Regions from separate parts of the Homo sapiens genome. Here region 1 is linked to region 2. Evidence: promoter capture Hi-C in 16 types of primary human blood cells and fetal thymus (Javierre and others, 2016). All regions are on one chromosome and are shown on one strand. Each heading gives the region's core, a stretch centred on a gene start or on the middle of the fragment in contact. The rest is flanking DNA. Distances are from core to core; before and after follow the strand shown. Region 1 holds the start of SERPINA7 (serpin family A member 7). Region 2 holds the start of PWWP3B (PWWP domain containing 3B).

Region 1 (5,353 bases), core at 1,289-3,788, 130 kb after region 2:
TTAGCCAAATCCTATGCTTGCCATTTGATCCTGTGTATTACCAAATTACAGAATTTGTTGATTTCTCAACATTGATGTCGGTTTTGTCGAAATTAGTCACTGAAATGCAAAGAGTAAAAATTCAAGAATAGGACAGTTGAGAGAGTTAAAAGAACCTCAACTCCAAATCCCCACTGAGCCTCTCTTGCCAGCAAAAGCAGTCTTTCTCTTTGTCCAATGCAGCTGTTTCTCCTTTGCTTACACACCCGGTAATTTCCTTGCCCGTGAGACTTAAATTGCAAAAAGAAGCCAATTTTCCTAATGCCACCATCTCACAACTATTGTTGTCTCCAGACCTGTAAGCAGAGTAAGATCCCATCATTTCTCTCCAGACTAGGGTGGAGGATCAAATATCAAAACAATGAGAAAAGTGTTTACAAACTGAAAGAACTGTGGAACGTTGAACATTTCTAAAATAAAATTTGTGTGGGAATAATTATGAGGGTGTTCATTCAAAAAAGGAGATATATAATTTTAGATCTGATTGAATTTATTGATATGGTAAAACTTCCTAGAGAGTCTTTATTCAATGTGCTACTCTAGCAGCTTTACACAAGACTGAAATTATTGTGATAAATATAAGTTTGCAAGATCTTACACCTTCTCAATCAATTGCATCTGAAGGAGAATGTATTAGCAGAAAGCAGAAATGAACAGCAGTAGGGGGTAGAGATAAAGCCCAGGGAATATGGAGACTTGAGGTGAGGGAATATATGATAACAGAAGAAAGGGAAGAGAATTATCTGTTTCTGGATCCCCACTTTGTACGGGGCACTATTATAGGAGCTTCTGGACACCACCTCTAAATTTCATTTTATACTCTCAATAACCACATGACATGGGAATCATTATTATTTCCACTTTAGAGGTGAGAAAACTGAGGTTCAAGGATACTAGGTAACTTGTCCCAAATTACACAGTTACAACATAGAGACATGGCAGGGGCACAGGTCTAATGCCTGTGATGCCAGAGCACAGGGCAAGGGAGTCTGCAGAGGGAAGGGTACCTTTCTCTTATGTCGGAGATAAGCCCTGCTAGCAAAGCTCAGCTGAATCAGAAGCAGCAGAAAACAACCTGTGCCATTGTCTGACTATGCCACCAGAGGGCACAGGTTTGGAAGTTTTCTTTTTACACAGTCTTTTGCTGTTTTCTCTGCAGGGACTTGCTGTAGCTGAGAGAGCAATGTGTTATATTACATGGACTAACCTCGCAGTCTAGAGACTTGAGCTTGTCACTCCCTTTCTTTAGGACACATGTACTAGTGACCATCACATTTGTGAGGTGTGCCTTCTTCAATATGGGCAGCGGGTGTCAGGTAGTTAGAAAGACCTCTTGGGTTCAGGACTGATATTTACCAACCAGCTCTGAAACCTCAGTGCTGACTGTGGTTCTTTCCACACAGTGGGAGCTTAGTCTATGTTTTGTTAAGAAGAAATAATGGTACACAGAGTCACCCTCTGTCTATCCCCCAGTGGCTTCCCAGTGCCCTCAAGGTAAAGTCAGTACTATTTGTCCTGGATTATAAGTCCTACCATAGACTGCATCTAGGCTTAGTTCGAACTAGCTCCTCATTCCCTGCCTCCCCTCCCACTACAAATTAACACATAGATTCTTAATGTAGTACTGAAGCTGGCAGGGTCTGGAATCTGATGCTTCACAAAATGTCTGTAGTAAAATGCTTCACATGCCTGTAGTAAATACTCAGAAGCAGGAGTTGCTGTTGCTGCTACTGCTACTGCTACTACTGCTACTACTACTACTACTAGAGCTGGAAACTTTCAGAAGCAGGTTGAACTCAAGTCTCCTGACTGAGTCCAGTTCTTTTTGTTCCCATTGCTTCTTTGCATATAATCAGTACACAATTAATACTGGACAGTGGAATCTTTAATTTCAGTCTCCTTGACTCCTTCTGCATCCTCTTTTGGAGTCCTGTGGCCAGGGGACGGTACAGGGAATTTTAATGACGAGAAGACAGGGCTGGTTTCCCCCTTAGCAGACATATATGTTTGCAGCATCAGAAGTCTAGGGCTGGAAGCTACCTTTGACATCATTTCCTCTGCGAATGCATGTATAATTTCTACAGAACCTATTAGAAAGGATCACCCAGCCTCTGCTTTTGTACAACTTTCCCTTAAAAAACTGCCAATTCCACTGCTGTTTGGCCCAATAGTGAGAACTTTTTCCTGCTGCCTCTTGGTGCTTTTGCCTATGGCCCCTATTCTGCCTGCTGAAGACACTCTTGCCAGCATGGACTTAAACCCCTCCAGCTCTGACAATCCTCTTTCTCTTTTGTTTTACATGAAGGGTCTGGCAGCCAAAGCAATCACTCAAAGTTCAAACCTTATCATTTTTTGCTTTGTTCCTCTTGGCCTTGGTTTTGTACATCAGCTTTGAAAATACCATCCCAGGGTTAATGCTGGGGTTAATTTATAACTAAGAGTGCTCTAGTTTTGCAATACAGGACATGCTATAAAAATGGAAAGATGTTGCTTTCTGAGAGATGCAGGTGGATTCTTGGGCATTTGCTGTAAGTACTTTTTTTCTCTTTGGAAACTTTGAACATCTCTATCAGCAAGTCAGAGTCCCAAATAACCAAGTTGGCAAGTCAGAGTCCCAAACCAAATTCCTGGCTCTAGGGGTGAAGGTCTAAGTGTGGTCATCTAATAATTGACTTTCTACCAGCCTCAGTGACTTTTAAAGAAAGAGGACTCTGATGATGATATGGAGATTGGATAGAGTGGTGAACAAAGGGGGTTGGTATGGAGGATATAGGAGATGGTGTGATCTGTTAGGAGCTGATATAGTAGCTCAGGCCATGAACTGAGAGGCAGAGGCAGCAGGAATGAAGAGAAGGGAGAAGTTTTGAGAGTTATTTAAGAGTTAGTATTCATAAGACATCATGCTTCATTAGATATGGGGAATGAGAATAAAAGGAGGCTATGATTATTCCCAGGTATCTGGCTTAGGTGTCTCTATAGACAGTGATGTGATAAACTGAGATGTGGAATGAAGATGAGGGAGCAAGCTTAAGGTGTAGGGAGATGATATGTTTACATCTGGCAACTTTGAGATTTTCTTATTGAGACTGAGGTCTGTGTGGACCATCCTGGTGGTTATATCCAAAAGAAAGCTGGATAAATGGCTAGGAGCTCAGGAGAGCAATCTGAGAGAGATACAGTTTCTAGCAATTGAGTGCGGAGGGTAAGATCACTCAGGAAGAAGATGGAGGGTGGAGGAAGGATCCTTTTTCTGAGTTCATAGACCTCTTCCTTCTAAGCACACATGTCCACTTTCATTGGATTTCCACACCTGACTTCTTTACTCCATTTCTTTGCACTCTTTCAGGATCAGAGAACCTTACACCTTATCTTTCTGGCTTTCTTTATAATAATTAAAAGTAACATGCATAGGTGTAAGAATAATAGTGTTAAGATGTCTTACAACTTAGAAATGACTGTTTAGATGTTACTAAGATTAATGGTGAAAGAAATGTAAAATTTAGAAAATTATTCTTTCATTTTCTGGTTGTTCGAAAATACCTCTATGGCTTCCATGCATTGCAAAATGCATGAATTTCAGCTCATGACCTTGTACGTGGCTCCATAAACCACCACCCATCCATTCCAACTAATCATATATTGTACAAATTACTTTCATTTTGTCTTTTAGCCAAATAAGATGCGAGTGTTCTCTCATCTCATAGATTTTATCTTAAGAAAATGCCAGATGAAAAAAAAAATCTAAAATTCTAATCTACAATGAATAATGTATACAGAGGGAGTACTAGTTTAACCTAAGAATATCCCCTCTCTCCAAAAGGCTGCCTCTAGTTCAGAAAAAAAGTGATTCAATTTCCATAAATTTAATTTACTCACAGCGTTTTCATAATGTTGCTATAACATCTGAATGACAGTCCATGGCATTATTTCCGTGGTTGCAGCAAGCCACTTCTCCTACTCCCTGTCCATATTAGATGCATCTCCTGTTTTTCAAGGGAGAGAAACCCCTGCTCAGCCCCTGATGAGCACATCATCAAATATTTACTATTGTTTTATTAATCAATGTGGGTGGTTATTATGTGTCTCTGGCTCAGGGAGTGTTTCATCCAACTAAGCTCCCTCAGTGGTTGTCTCACTTCATCTCTTATAGATTAACTTCCTTCCAAAATGTCACCATTCCTGTATCTGGTTCTCTTGGTACTTGGGCTTCATGCTACAATCCACTGTGCATCACCTGAAGGCAAAGTAACAGCCTGCCATTCATCCCAACCAAATGCCACTCTCTACAAGATGTCATCCATTAATGCTGACTTTGCATTCAATCTGTACCGGAGGTTCACTGTGGAGACCCCAGATAAGAACATCTTCTTTTCCCCTGTGAGCATTTCTGCAGCTTTGGTTATGCTTTCCTTTGGGGCCTGCTGCAGCACCCAAACTGAGATTGTGGAGACCTTGGGGTTCAACCTCACAGACACTCCAATGGTAGAGATCCAGCATGGCTTCCAGCATCTGATCTGTTCACTGAATTTTCCAAAGAAGGAACTGGAATTGCAGATAGGAAATGCCCTCTTCATTGGCAAGCATCTGAAACCACTGGCAAAGTTCTTGAATGATGTCAAGACCCTCTATGAGACTGAAGTCTTTTCTACCGACTTCTCCAACATTTCTGCAGCCAAGCAGGAGATTAACAGTCATGTGGAGATGCAAACCAAAGGGAAAGTTGTGGGTCTAATTCAAGACCTCAAGCCAAACACCATCATGGTCTTAGTGAACTATATTCACTTTAAAGGTAAGACTTTCAGATGTCAATTTTCAGTCTAGGGCTCAGATACTTGGGTGGAGTGCTGAGGGGAGCTCATGGTCTCTTATTACTGGCATCAGTAGGTGTCCCTCATACCACAGTGATCTGCTCCACTGGACATAGCTGTGAATAGTATTGGATCTTCCAAGATGGACACACAGCTCTGTGAATGAGTCCAGGAAATTTCTAGGGAGAGCGCCCTTTCAGAGAGGTGGGTGACAATGGTATGAACATCTTGCTCATAATTGGCTAAAGATTCATGGTTTCCAAAAGATTTGGTGAGGTGGGACAAGCTTGCACTTGTCAAGTAGACATATTTGTATGTAAAGCCTACTGTGATTCTCACTTGCTGTACATACTTAGGCATGTTACATACATAATTTTACCATGTATTATGCACTCACTGTGTACTAAACACCATCTGACATGTGTGGTATACACACACTGTCTCAATCAATACTCATAAGTGTCCAAGTTTACACAGTTAATAAGTTTTAGAACTGATATTACCAA
Region 2 (5,111 bases), core at 28-2,527:
ATCAGGTAATGAGCCTTCTCAGACCCATAGAAAAATCCTACTGCAGCTAAAGACAATGGAATGTGTGTGTGGCTATTTGCTCAAGTGTCTGTAACAAAAGTGATTATTCCCTTTTCAGCTCCATTATCGTTTCCAAAAGAATCTAAAAGTACATAAAAATCTAAAGATGAAAATACACATCATCAGTACTCAAACCCTGAGTTGTTCACGGCATACATTTGATGTCTAATCCTTTTTATTTTTTTCCTCATCACATACATGTTTGAATATACTATTTAAAATTACATTTATTTAGCCACATATTTGAACACCTTTCCCTGTTTATATATGAGTTTACGCTATTTTGGGGAAAGTAGCTTTTCCCCATGATTTTAAGTTCTCATCTCAGTTTCTATGCCGACATAGAAACTACATGCTAAGTAAAATGTGGAAGAAAGAAGTGGAAAATTTCCTCCTTTTTCCCCTGACATCCTTTTTTATCAGGCATCCTTTATTACTAAGTATATTGTTTGTTGTGTTTTATTATACTAATGCACGTCTGTTATTGTTATGATCTTTTAGATTTTTTCCATTGCAGTACAAATAGGAATGTACAATTCTCTTGAGAGATAGGTAGAAGTACAGACAAAGATCATATTTTGCACATTATTTAAAAAGCTATTATATTAAGTCATTGTGTATCCCTTGACAAATAACCAAACTAATTCTCAGAGATACTCGAATTTGCACAGTTATGCATTACTTTAAATTACTAACATACTCCACCAAAACAGTAAGATTTGTTAGAAACACAACACATTCAAAGTAATATAAAAAACCAACATCCCCAACAACTTAATTTTTCATTTAAGACTATTACAACCTTTTTCAAAATAAGGAAGATTAAACTCCCAAGTTTTGTTTCATCATTTATCTCAGCCACCACTGCCTTTTGATGGAAACATAAAATGCTCTATTAAAAAGTTAGCTTTTGCTACCTCTTTAAGAATATTTTTCCACAGGTGTAATGTTGATTACCACCTCCCCGACTGTGGACTTTTAAAATAATCTGAAGGAACACAAAACACAGATATTAATTCCCTCACAGAAACAACGACCCTCACAGAACGACACTCCTTTCCCGTTATTCCTAAGCAGCACTCTCTTCTTTTCTCACCTTTATTCCAAATCTTCGAGAACTCTCTGAAAATAACTAGCATTTACGACAGCCATTACCTCCAAGCTTCTCCACGGAAGCCTCCGAAGCCTGTGTGTAATGCAGCTCCTCCCCGAAGACTGGCTGGGCGCAGCTTTCTTCCAAGCTCCTAGAGGATGCTCCGCCCCCTCTCCGTGATGGGGAAAGCACGAGGTTCTTCCTTCGCTTAGGAGAAAAATGACCAACTTAAACCGAAATACAGTTAAAGGGAAGAAATGTTCCTCTTAAAGTACTTTAAAGTGTAATGGTAACCTATGTCTGTTCAATTTCCATTCAACCCCCTAGGATAGGTGTTTTAATGGAAAAAGAGAAGCAACAGCAAATCTCTTTTTCATATAATAAAGATGTGGTTAAAACGTTCCTTACATATATTTTTTCTGATCCTCTTTTGTACTTTATTTCTGGTAAATTTAAGACCTACTGGCCAAACTTCACAAAAAAACATACGCTAAGTATTTTGATTTGGATTACAGTGAATTAATACTTTATTTTAGGTAGAATTAATTCTTTACAATTTTGAATCTGAACCTGGGACATAATATATCTCTCCTTTTATTCAAGTTTCTTATACTTCTTTCCTTAGGTCATTTCCAAAGAAAAATCCTCAGACAAAATCTGATTATACTGAAATTGAAAAAAAAAATGTATTAAGCGTAAAATCACCATAGGCCAAGTTAAAAAATCAGCCGCAAACTTAGGAGTGCTTTTCAAGTGCTTTTGTTTGTCCATATGATTAGATAAACAAAAATATACCCAAGCTAGTTCTTTCATTTCAATAAGAAAGAAATGAACAACAAAGTAGAGAAAGGGGCAAAGAACACAAGCAGAGAATTCCCAACGTCCTTCCCTATTCCTGATATTCACTTCACTGTGAAGAAATCTCAAAGCAGTGTAACTTGAAGGCTCTCTGCGTCTTCTAGACTAGAGAAATATGCTTCTAGGCTGATGGATAGGTTTCCTTAAGTCTGGAGTTCTGTTAGTCTCATTTCACTCTCACAAGCAAAGTCCTGCAATTTATCTTCCCCTCTTAATAAAGCTGACAATTTTGGTTTCATCTGCTATTCAACTTATTTTTACCACATTTTCTTCATTATTTTTAAGATATGACAATTGTAAACTTTTTGTACCCACGAGATTACCTCAAAATGTATAATAATGCAAAAATGGATAGAAATACATTATTGGGCAAGTAAGAAAAATTTGATTAGCTCTTATAGAAGTAAAAGGAACTGGTGGTCAGTGCCTCCTCCTGAGGCTCTTTTACCTACAAAGTACTTTGATCTCTCCCAGATTAATGTCTGTTTATTTTGGTCTTGGAATGTGATTTTTTTGTACAATTGACAAAAATTATATATATTCAAGATGGGTAATGTGATGATTTGATATATGTGTACACTGTGAAATGATTACCACAATCAAGCCAGGTAACATATCCATCACCTCACATAGTTACCATTTCGTGTGAGATGAGAACGCTTTAGATCTACCTTCTTAGCAAATTTCAAATATACATTACATATTATTAACTACAGTCACCTTTTCATGTACCTTTTGACCATTTGCACATTTTCATTGGAAAAAATAACTACCCAGTGTCTTTTACTCATTTTTAAAATCAGGTTACTTGCTAGTTTTTTCTTGACATTGAGTTTTATAAGTTTCTTATTGTGGGTATTAATTTTATAAGTTTCTAATTGTGGATATTGACTCCTTATTGGATGCATGGTTTGCAAATATTTTCTCCCATTCCATGGGTTACCTTTTCATTCTGTTGATTATTTTCTTTGTTGTGCAGAAACTTTAGTTTGATGTAGTCCCACTTGTTTATTCATGTGATTTCTAATAGCAAGTTATCTCAAAAGCTCTGATATAATTTCAAAGCTCAAAGCTTCTCAGTATTGCAGCTCTATAAAAACCGCTTCTGTTCATGAAACATTCTGCAAAATTGTGGGACAAATTCTGCTAATGTGTAACAAGGACATAATACTAAGAATAATAGTTTATTGAAATATAACAACATCAAGAACAGAGAACTGATAAACTGTGTTCTATAAAGTCACAAGACCTTGAGAAACATTGCTATCCAGAATGAAAAGACTCTACTCTAAAGTGTCGCTTTTTTATTATTGTTGACATCAGTTTTATTTTCTTTGGTATTAAAAAGTGCTCTAAAAAACCAGTGGTTGCACCACTTAGAATGGCAATCATTAAAAAGTCAGGAAACAACAGGTGCTGGAGAGGATGTGGAGAAATAGGAACACTTTTACACTGTTGGTGGGACTGTAAACTAGTTCAACCATTGTGGAAGTCAGTGTGGCGATTGCTCAGGGGTCTAGAACTAGAAATACCATTTGACCCAGCCATCCCATTACTGGATATATACCCAAAGAACTCTAAATCATGCTGCTATAAAGACACATGCACACGTATATTTATTGCGGCATTATTCACAATAGCAAAGACTTGGAACCAACCCAAATGTCCAACAATGATAGACTGGATTAAGAAAATGTGGCACATATACACCATGGAATACTATGCAGCCATAAAAAATGATGAGTTCATGTCCTTTGTAGGGACATGGATGAAATTGGAAAGCATCATTCTCAGTAAACTATCGCAAGAACAAAAAACCAAACACCGCATATTCTCACTCATAGGTGGGAATTGAACAATGAGATCACATGGATACAGGAAGGGGAATATCACACTCTGGGGCCTGTTGTGGGGTGGGGGGAGGGGGGAGGGATAGCATTGGGAGATATACCTAATGCTAGATGACGAGTTAGTGGGTGCAGCGCACCAGCATGGCACATGTATACATATGTAACTAACCTGCACAATGTGCACATGTACCCTAAAACTTAAAGTATAATAAAAAAAATAAAAATAATAAAAAATAAAAAATAAAAAAAACCAGTGGTTGTAGAACATAAACATACCAAAGTATAAAATGTTGAAAATACCAAATATTGGTAAGGATAAGGAGCAATTGGAAGGTTCATACACTTTTTACAGAAATGTAAATTGGAACTCACATTTTGGGAACTGTTTTGGCACTATTTGCCTAAAGCTGAGCATTATAGAGGTTAAGAGAGAACCATCTAGTGCGTTAAGTAGCAGAGTGGAATATCTAAATTGGTAATAGAGAAATGGTCTCCACAGAGACCTATGGGTACCCAGATGATCCAGTGGGACATAGAAAGTAAATGTTTAAAATTCAATTTCTTTCATTTTGATTTATTTTATAAGCTTCTACTTATAAATATGTTAAATGCACATAATAAATACTATAATGTATTACATACTTTATAAAAATATCGAACAATTGGGAGGTGTCAAATTTTTTTTACAATGGTGATAAAAATATATGTGGACATCCCTGCTTTATGGCACTCACACCCCACATAGCCTTCCCACTTGTCCTTTCCCAAACCATTTGCATGGTTTGGGATTATTTTCTCATAAAAGACTAATTAAGCTGAACTTGCTAAATTTCCTGTATACTGTTTTCACTGCTCAGGTAAGCTAACGTTACTCTCATTAAATGTTTAAGGTAATCATGAGAAACTGAATTACAGTAAGCCATGTCTTTGCAAAATGATTGGTTCTCTCAAACTTCAGGTAAAGCCACAAAATATGTGGGTATACAGTTATTCTATTTGGACTATGTAAGTGTTTTCACTGTAATATTATAAAGCCAAAATTCTTTGTTTTAAGTTCAAGGGTACAAGTGCAAGATGTGCAGGTTTGTTACATAGGTAAATGTGTGCCATGGTGGTTTGCTGCACCTGTCAAACTATCACCTAGGTTTTGAGCCCGGCTTGCATAAAACCAAAATTCTAATACCAACAGTGAGTGTATTTTTCTTTAACGTCAACCTAAATTTAATTTCTTAGTTCTGTAATTGACTTTG

What was found. The method cuts DNA at HindIII sites, captures the fragments that hold promoters and counts their contacts. A CHiCAGO score of 5 or more calls a contact.
Region 1: the fragment with the promoter of SERPINA7 here is called in contact with the fragment with the promoter of PWWP3B in region 2 in 2 of 17 cell types (total CD8 T cells and endothelial precursors); the score reaches 5.9 in total CD8 T cells.

What each region holds. Positions count from the first base shown.
Region 1 is chrX:106,035,912-106,041,264 of GRCh38, reverse strand. It overlaps SERPINA7 (serpin family A member 7), which reads left to right and starts at 2,538. Exons shown (of 5, transcript NM_000354.6): 1 at 2,538-2,567; 2 at 4,190-4,828. The coding sequence starts at 4,207. The HindIII fragment of the contact is 3,176 bases long and covers 1-3,067 here.
Region 2 is chrX:106,164,471-106,169,581 of GRCh38, reverse strand. It overlaps PWWP3B (PWWP domain containing 3B), which reads right to left and starts at 1,277. Exons shown (of 4, transcript NM_001171020.2): 1 at 1,157-1,277. The HindIII fragment of the contact is 1,861 bases long and covers 1,225-3,085 here.